Regions from separate parts of the Homo sapiens genome. Here region 1 is linked to region 2. The links are contacts of gene promoters, found by promoter capture Hi-C in human tissues and cell types (Jung and others, 2019). All regions are on one chromosome and are shown on one strand. The core of a region is centred on a gene start or on the middle of the fragment in contact, and the rest is flanking DNA. Distances in the headings are between cores, read along the strand shown.

What was found. Contacts are between HindIII fragments. The study calls those that stand out against the background at their distance.
Region 1: a fragment that was not itself captured here is called in contact with the fragment with the promoter of GSTA3 in region 2 in 1 of the 25 tissues and cell types used here (aorta).

The regions. Positions count from the first base shown.
Region 1 is chr6:52,959,333-52,964,085 of GRCh38, forward strand. No RefSeq gene overlaps it. Among named protein-coding and RNA genes, the nearest start is that of GSTA4, 34 kb to the right of the region's middle. RefSeq lists a silencer at 2,706-2,906. The HindIII fragment of the contact is 4,080 bases long and covers 738-4,753 here.
Region 2 is chr6:52,908,000-52,913,003 of GRCh38, forward strand. GSTA3 (glutathione S-transferase alpha 3) reads right to left here and starts at 1,699. Exons shown (of 7, transcript NM_000847.5): 1 at 1,642-1,699. RefSeq lists enhancers at 1,203-1,895, 1,896-2,589. The HindIII fragment of the contact is 16,965 bases long and covers 1-5,004 here.

The DNA.
Region 1 (4,753 bases), core at 1,528-4,027, 52 kb after region 2:
TCGGCTGACAGGGGAGTATATTTTCTTAAGGCCTCCCATAGCTGCTCGAGGAAGGCAGAAGGATTTTCTTCCTTTCCCTGAGTTATGGTGGACATCATTGAATAATTCATGGGCTTTTTTCTAATTCTCCTTAGTCCTTCTAGAACACAGGTCAACAAATGTTTACAACTCCAGTCCCCATGATCTGAGTAAAGGTCCCAGTGGGGATCCATACTGGGGATGGCTTGCTGACCGGTAGGGAATTTGTCCCTTTCTTCAGCTGTCATTCTGTCATTTACTTGACTAAGATACCAGGTATCTCCAAACTCTCGGGCTACAGCTAAAGCTGCATTATTTTCATTAAAGGCCAGGGTTGGATCTAACAGTAGCATGACATCTCTCCAAGTGAGGTCGAAGGTTTGCCCTAGACCTTGTAGGACATCTCTGTACCTATCAGGATCATCTGAAAACTTCCCCAGGTCTGCCTTGATCTGTTTTAAGTCAGAGAGGGAGAAGGGGACATGTACCCGGGTTGGGCCAAATTCCCCTCCCCCTACAGCTTGAAGGGGACATAACCAGTAGCCTGGGGGCATTTGTGGTCCTTTGGAGATTTCTTTACTTATTTCCTTCTGGGCAGGGGAGATTAGAGGAGGATTATCATTAATGGGAAGGGGAGCTATAGGGAGGCTATGATATGGGGGTAAGTTGAGCGGTCCTCCTGTGGGATGTAAATTGTAAGCTTTGCATTGTTGTGTATTCTCTGTCAATGAAAAGAAAGCTTGGACATAAGGTATTTCACTCCATTTGCCTTCCCTCTTACAGAAAAGGTCAAACTGCAGGATAGTATTGTAATTTGTACTTCCCTTCAGGTGGCCATTTTTCCCCATCAGAGAGAGAATATTGGGGCCAGGCTGTAGTGTAGAAAAAAATGAGCCACCTCTTTTTCGGGGTTTGTGGGTCAAATTGGTCCCAATGGCTTAGGATGCATTTCAAGGGTGAACCTGTTGATGCCTGAGTGTTTCCCATCTGAAAGACAAAACTGCCTGCGGTTTTGGTTTGTTTTGTTTCTCCCCCTGCCCAAGAACCCGTGACAGTCCCTGAACCCTGCTGATCGGAATAGTTGTGCTCACTGATGCAGCAACAGAAACAACCCCTACCCAAGAACCCGCAATGGTCCCTGGACCCTGCTGATCAGAACAGTTGCGCTCACTGACGCAGCAGCAGAAACATTAATTTTCCTCCCAGACCACATGGAGGACCAAGGAAGGTCGGATTTAGTGGCCCTTACTGATGCATTCTCGAAAACCTGCACCCTTGCCTGTCCTCCTAGACCACAAGGAGGGCTGAGAAAAATCGGATTTAGTGACACTTACCAACGCATTCTTGAAAACCTGTTAGAGTCCTAAGCATTCACCTGTTAGTATTGGGACCTTACCCATGTCCTATAAAGATGTTATGCCCCAAAAATGAAGTGGAGGGCCATACCCTGAGGGAGGGAAGGGATCTCCAGGGTTGGAATAGTGACACCTTTTGTCCTCACTTATATGAATAGGAAGGATACAATTTCTGGGGCTCCCCATATCCTAGCTTCAGGAATAGCTTTTGTTAGGCCTGTTAGTCTGAGGAGGGATCCTAAAATTCCAGGTAGTCCCCCCTACAACAGGGCTTTGGGCAATAATTATGTCTTTCTGATTGGTGAGCCAGGGTGCCTAAAGAAGTTAACAGAGTCTTGGAGTTTATACTAGAAGTCATTCTTATAGGAGAAACTAGAAAAGCCCCAGAGACAGGGAGCGATTTTTAGAAGTGGGACTAATCTCGGAGAAGAGAGGAAGTTTGTCTGGCAGGCATTAGGACCCAGGGGGCAAGGGTCAGGATAGACAGGATAGATGGGCGAGTCTCGCTTAGGTGACACGCCTTTGAGAGTTCCGCTCATGACCGCAGGGTCAGCCAACTTGTTGTCAGGACCCCGGAGCTGAATGGCTTTCCTCTCTCTTGACTCTCAGCTCAGCCCAGAAGTACAGGAAAAGCAGAAGCCGGTTCCAGGCAAACCAACGCTCCCAACTCTGAAGAGTCAGGGGTTGTTAGAGAGCCCTTTCCCAGAAAGCCTGACACCTGTGTCTTTAGGCCGGCGGCCGCGCTAGTCACCTTTAACTGGCCAACAGGTGCCCGGTATTTAGCCCCCAAATTCTAAGGAAAAATAGGACAGAATAGCAAGCAAAAGGGGTCCAATGGTACTCACTGCTTGCCAATAGGTGACAGTCTTACCGCTTAACAATAGGCAATGGTCTCACCACTTGGTGATAGTCTTACTGCTTGGTGATAGGCAATAATCCCTTCTGGGTCACCAAAATGTGTCCGGAATTGGTGGGTTCTTGGTCTCACTGACTTCAAGAATGAAGCCACAGACACCTGCAGTGAGCGTTACAGTTCTTAAAGATGGCGTGTCTGGAGTTTGTTCCTTCTGATATTTGGACGTGTTTGGAGTTTGTTCCTTCTGGTGGGCTCATGGTCTCGCTGGCTTCAGGAGTGAAGCTGCAGACCTTCGTGGTGAGTGTTACAGCTCTTAAGGCAGCACGTCTGGAGTTGTTCGTTCCTCCTGTCTGGAGTTGTTCATTTCTCCTGGTGGGGTCGTGGTCTCGCTGGCCTCAGGAGTGAAGCTGCAGGCCTTCACAGTGAGTGTTACAGCTCATAAAGGTAGTGTGGAGCCAAAGAGTGAGCAGCAGCAAGATTTATTGCAAAGAGTGAAAGAACAAAGCTTCCACAGTGTGGAAGGGGACCTGAGCAGGTGGCCACTGCTGGCTGGGGCAGCCTGCTTTTATTCCCTTATCTGGCCCCACCCACATTCTGCTGATTGGTCCATTTTACAGGGAGCTGATTGGCCAATTTTGACAGGGTGCTGATTGGTGTGTTTACAAACCTTTAGCTAGACACAAAAGTTCTCCAAGTCCCCACTAGATGAGCTAGACACAGAGCACTGACTGGTGCATTTACAAACCTTGAGCTAGACACAGGGTGCTGATTGGTGCATTTACAAACTTGAGCTAGACACAGAGCACTGACTGGTGCATTCACAATCCTTTAGCTAGACATAAAAGTCCTCCAAGTCTCCACCAGATTATCTAGATACAGAGTGCTGATTAGTGCATCCACGAACCCCGAGCTAGACACAGAGTGCTGATTGGTGCGTATACAATCCTCTGGCTAGACATAAACATTCTCCAAGTCCCCAGCAGATTCAGGAGCCCAGCTGGCTTCACCCAGTGGATCCTGCACTGAGGCCACGTGGGTGGAGGTGCCTGCCAATCCTGCACCACGCACCTGCACCCCTCAGCCCTTAGGCGGTCAATGGGACCAGGCACCGCGGAGCAGGGGGCAGCACCCATCAGGGAGGCTCGGGCAGCACAGGAGCCCATGGGGTGGGGGGGGGGGGGCAGGGAGCCCGCACCCACCCAGAATTCATGCTGGCCAGTGAGCACCACGCAGCCCTGGTTCCCATCCATGCCTCTCCCTCCACACCTCCCCACAAGCAGAGGGAGCCAGCTCCAGCCTCGGCCAGCCCAGAGAGGTGCTCCCACAGTGCAGCAGCAGGCTGAAAGGCTCCTCAAGCATGGCCAGAGTGTGCGCAGAAGGCACTGAGAGTGAGCAAGGGCTGCCAGCACGCTGTCACCTCTCATTAATGTCTTCAGAGGGAGGTCACTCAGGTTTGCAGATTTCCTTTCAATCAGTTCCAAAAGCAGGAGCAAACATATAGCTGCACCCTTTCAGACATCTGTTATAATTGAGCTAAGAGACATGTCATCTCTTGCTCTGAGCCCCTTTCAAGGTGTTAATGTAATGTTGGATTTCCCTTCATTTATAACCCATTTATTCATTCCTTTACACTCAGCTACTTCTCCCCTGCTCCATTAATACCTAAACTTTTTCACCTTTGGGAAGAACATTAGAACCGCCACTGTGCTGGTCTAGATTGCAGGCAGCAATACTAGTCTAGCAAGTACCTCCTCCTCAGTCCACTGCCATTCAGGTGGGGTACAGTTCCATAGGTGGAGAACTAGTGAGCTATTTCTATCACCAGGCAATATAGCTGCATTCATTCAGCCCCACTTTTGCTAGACAGGATGAAGGCACAATCCTTCCCCAACAGGCCCTTAGGAATTCTGACACAAGGTCTGAAAAACACTGACAGTTTCTTGCTTAGAAATCCCTGCTTCCAGCACTTCTAGTTGCAGCCCCAGTCCTAGGACCATTGCATCATGTTGGCAATAGGCCCCCAAAATCTGGCCATAAACTGGCCCCAAAACTGGCCATAAGCAAAATCTCTGCAGCACTGTGACATGTTCATGATGGCCATGATGCCCACACTGGAAGGTTGTGGGCTTACTGGAATGAGGGCAAGGAACACCTGGCCCACCCAGGGCAGAAAACCACTTAAAGGCATTCTTAAACCACAAACAATAGCATGAGCGATCTGTGCCTGTTCTAATGTTCCTCCAAAAGGTGAAAAAGTTTAGGTATTAATGGAGCAGTGGAGAAGTAGCTGATTGTAAAGGAGCTGCAGATAACTAGCCCAACCCATCCCTTTATTTTGGCCCATCCTTTTGTTTCCTGTAAGGAATACTTTTAGTTAATCTATAATCCATAGAAACAATGCTTATCACTGGCTTGCTGTCAATAAACATGTGGGTAAATCTCTGTTCAAGGCTCTCAGCTCTGAAGGCTGTGAGACCTCTGATTTTCCACTCCACACCTCTATATTTTTGTGTGTGTGTTTTTA
Region 2 (5,004 bases), core at 449-2,948:
AAAAGAAGTTACCATTTTTATGTCCCCCACCCCTCAAACTGTGAGCTCCCGGGAAGCAGAGAAGTTGTCATAGTCTTTAAGCACAGTGTAGTGCATTGCTCAAAGTTCAGTCCGTGCTTTATAGGATATAACATGGCTAGATATCTCAAGAGCAATCTTTTTTTTTTTTTTTTTGCCATTTGCCTATAGCGCTCACTGTTTTAGACTACAGTAGCATAGAGTAATTAAAAAACAAACTAGGGCTGGGCATGGTGGCTCATACTTATAATCCCAGCACTTCGGAAGGCTGAGGAGGGAAGATTGCTTGAGCTCAGGAGTTCAGGACTGGCCTGGGCAATTAAATAAAGTCTCTATTTAAAAAAAAAATTAGCCAGGATTGGTGTCCCACACCTGTAGTCCCAGATACCCAGGAGGCTGAGGCAGGAAGATCACTTGAGCCCAAGATGTTAAGGCTGCAGTGAAACATGGCCACATCACTGCATTCCAGCCTGGGTGACAGAATGAGACTGTCTCAAAACAAACAAAAAGCATGAAAAAAGCCAAGCTAGGATTATGGCAATAAAATAACCAATCCTAATTATGAAACCCACCAATCTGCTGTTTAAAAAGAATTATCAAAGCAACCAAACTCTCCCACATAGTAGAAACATCGTGACTACACAAAAAATATTTTTTTTTAATTGGATAAGTGCTTTGGCAGGGTAGCCCAGGGTAATATTTCATTTGGCAAATAGAAAGAACTTGCATATAGAAGGAATGTGCATGTTCTGTTGGACAGGGAATATAACAGCTTAAGAGGGGGTTATTATTATTCTTAGATCTACTTGCCTACTACCCTAAAAGTCCTATATATTTAGATTCACTTGCAATTTTGAGACTTTAAACCCTGCTCACCCTTTGGTCCCAGATACTTCGAACAAGAAGGAGGAGGAGGAAGAAGAGGCAGAAGAGGAAAAAGAGGAGGAGGAAGAAGAAAGAGGGCAAAGAGAACAAAGAGAAGGAGGGAAGAAGGAGGAGAAGAAGAAGGAAAAATAGCATGCTGCTTGGTGCTCAATCACAAAGTCACTTATATAAGCAGTAAACTAATCTGTGTAAAATCAATGATGGAAGTGTAAATTTAGATCCTGATTGTCAAGCATTGGTGATTGGTTTCCCATTTGGAAGTGCCAGCTCTAGAGGAATACGACCATCCAGATGTATTTTCTTTTCATTGATCAAGTGGTGCTCCCAAATGTGTGACCCTGCCAGCTTTAAATCTAGTATAATTGTGTGTTGACTCCTGTGAATCACAGGAATGAATCACACGAATACATGTTTTTAATAAACAGCTTTTCCATAAGCAACCTTTGGCATGTGGCCTGGCACTGATGTGGTTGTATTTTCAGATTGCCCACAATGATACCACTCTTACTTTTCTCATATCATCAAATTCTTTGCCCTTGTTTTCTAAATTGTTGAATATTATTTTTCTTTACCGACCTGTCCTTCAGGAACTAACAAACAATGCTTAAATTGTCTCCTAAGCACACAGAAAAACAGCAAGAACATAAAGTACTCACACAAACTAACACATTTAAATTTGTTTTTCTTAGTGAAGTAGACATGAGAACATTTATGAAGATGTTTAAGGTCAATACTAACTTGAGTAAAGTCTAGCCGGTCTCCGCTCAGCTTCTCAAGGCCACCTCCTGATGTGTATGTTAGCTGTTTTAATACTATGACAACTCCTGCCTTCTGAAGGGGGTGGAGTCTAGTTGGGAGCAGCCACTCCCACACCACTTTAGTCTCCAGAGTTCCATGATCTGCTAGGAAGAAAATGACAGCAATTAATTTCAAGGCTATCCATAAATGCACAAAAAGATTTCATATCTATTTGGCTGCCTCAGAAGGTCACTGGGGACCAAGTATCCTGTGAACACTGCTTAAGGAGGATCTTGTTAAATAGGCTGCAGATTTATGACAGATGAGAAAACATTGTGGGGAGAGGAGGAAAGTGTCATAGGAGAGTCATAGGAGATGTCAGGAAAGGGGACTTGATAAAGAGCATAGGGAGATTGCCTTCTAAATTTGTTTAAAAAGACTAAATTACAAATAATGTCACAAAATTTTATAGGCCCAAAGAATCTGGCTGAGTTGTCCTTGCCCTGGGCAGACAAAAGACCTCAGCTGCATTCCCCGAGGTCATTTGCAGATTTTTCTCTGTGACTTACCAGTTAGCCTTTCTCCCTAGCCCAAGGCTCTGCATGCTGTTTCTCCTATTTGGAGCACTCTTTTCTCCCCTGCTCCAAGGCATCCTGTGCTTCCTCTATCACATCACTCTTTCTACATTCCGTGCATCATGTCTGCTTTCCCCCTGTTGAGTATGAGCTCCTTGAGGCAGGGCCTCAAGTCCTGGTGGTTAACCAAGTCCCCGTGGCTAACCACAGTGCCTGGACATAGAAAGGGCTTAATACACGTATATGTAATTTCTACTTTTCTAAAGGAAATTGTCTGATATACATAAATCTGGAAAGAACACTACAAAGCCTTGATGTACCCATCACCTTGCTTCAAAAATTATTGACAATATTTGAAGCAAATCTCAGACTTAGTTTTTTTCCTCTATAATCTAATCTGTATCTTTTAAACTTGTGGGTGGGGGAGTTATTTATGTAACAGAAAAATTGCAAAACTAGTACAAGTTTCCCAAATACCCCTCACCCAGCATCCGCTAATGTTAACATCTTATGTAACCATAGTACAATGATTGAATCCAGGAATTTAATGTTGATACACTATTGACTAAACTCCAGGCCTTACTTGAATTTCACCAGTTTTTCAATCAGTATCTTTTTTCTAACCCAGGATCCCATCCAGGACCCCAGCACTGCATTTCGTTGTCACATCTCCTTAGTTACCTCCAAACTATGGCAGTTCCTCAGTCTTTTCTTGTCTTTCATGATGGTGGCATTTTTGAAGAGTAATGGTCAATTATTTTGTGGAATGTACCTCAATTTGGGTCTATCTGATGTTTTCTCATGACTCGATTGACGACATACATTTTTTGCAAAATGTCACAGCAGTTGTTCCAGTCTCAGCTGATCATTTCCACCCATAATTTCATATCCGAGACATGGTATGTCTTATTAATTTTGATCTTAACCTTAATCCCTTGATTAAAGTAGCGTCTGCCAGGTTCATCAACCGTAATATTACTATTTATCCCTTTGGAATTCATAAATATCTTGTGGAAGATACTTTGTGACTATAAAAATAGTCAGTTTCAAAATAAGCTTCTGCTCACTAACTTTAGCATCCATTATGGATCTTGCCTGCAGCAAATATTACTGTAGTGTTTGTCTAATAGTGACTTTCTATTTCCCTCATTCCATCTACATTTAATAATTCGAATTCTTCTGTAAAGAAAAGCTGTCTCTTCTCCTTTATTTATCCTTCCATTCATTCAATTATTTTCTTAGTACAGATTTATAGATATTTTATTCTAAAGGTTACAATCTAATACCATCGATATCTATTTTATTGCTCAAATTGATCCACCTTTAGCCTGTGGGAGCTCCTTCAGATTGGCTTCTGTGTCTTTTATGGCAAACCTCCTCTCTTATTGTGAGCATTTCCAGATACTTTCTGTGCCAAAGATGTTCCAGGCTTATCTTGTCTTGTCTGTGTCCCAGCCTTGAAGTCAACCATTTCTCCAAAGATCCTTGTTTCCTTTTATTGGGGAAGGTATTTGAAAACTAGGATCTCGGAACTATGTGTACTCATTGCTTCTGGGTTTTCAATGCTTCTAGGCTCTCCCCAGTGGGAAATATATGTATGTATATTAACCCACACATACATACACTTCTGTATGTATTTATATAGCTATCTGTATAAATATGATAAAAAACCATGAGTTCATACAGATACCTACTATTTCAATTCAATAGATTCATTTAGCCGTGTCCTTTCATTTCTAACCTCTCTGACAAGTGAGAAACCTGGCTATGATTATCTAAAATATACAATATTTGCATATTTGTTTAATCCTAGTACAAGTAAAATAGTTGCAGAATTGCCAATGCATACCTCTGTGAAAAACAAATCTACTAACAAGAGTACAGTATTTTTCTTTCCTTCTTTTTTTTTTTTTTTTTTTTTTGGTCTTAAGCCTTACAATATCCAGTCAAAATTGTGGTTTTCTGTGGTTATTTAGGTCAGTTCTTTTCCCCCCCACCTCCTTCAGTTTGGTAATCTATTCATTTGAAATGCTGTTAGGTTGTTAGTGTTTGTATATTCCACTTTGCGGTTTCCTTACATCCTGGTTGGTTTTAATTAATTACTTAGTTTTCTGGTATGCAAAACTTTACCATGATTCTAAGAGCCAGAGTTATATGAAAAAGTGTCTTTGGAGACACTGTCTCTCTCTGTCCCTAATTCCCATTCCTAGTCCCTCTTTTTCCCACCCATTTCTCACTCATCCCCCTGTAGACAACAAATCTCACTAATTTCTAACTTTCCCCTTTTGTTTTTCTTTTGCTCAAGTACATATTTCCTTACAACCCCTTCTTTCTTACATAAAGGGCAGCATACCATAATACTTTTTTGCTCTTTGTTTTGTGTGGTTGTTGGTTCCCCCACCCTTCACTTAATGATAGGTCCTAGAAATCACCACCATCTAAGTTCATAGATGTCTTCCTTTATTTGCTACAGCTGCAAAATACTCCATCGTATGAATGCATCATAGTTTATGCAAGCACTCTTTATTTATTTATTCATTTTTTTGAGACAAAGTCTCACTCTGTCACCCAGGCTGGAGTCCAGTGGCATGACCTCGGCTGTCGGCAACCTCTGCCTCCCAGATTCAAGTGATTCTTCTGCCTCAGCCTCCCAAGTAGCTGGGACTATGGACTACAGGTGCGCACCACCACGTCTGGCTAATTTTTGTATTTTTATTAGAGACAGAGTTTCACCATATTTGGCCAGGCTGGTCTTGAACACCTGACCGCATGATCGGCCCACCTCGGC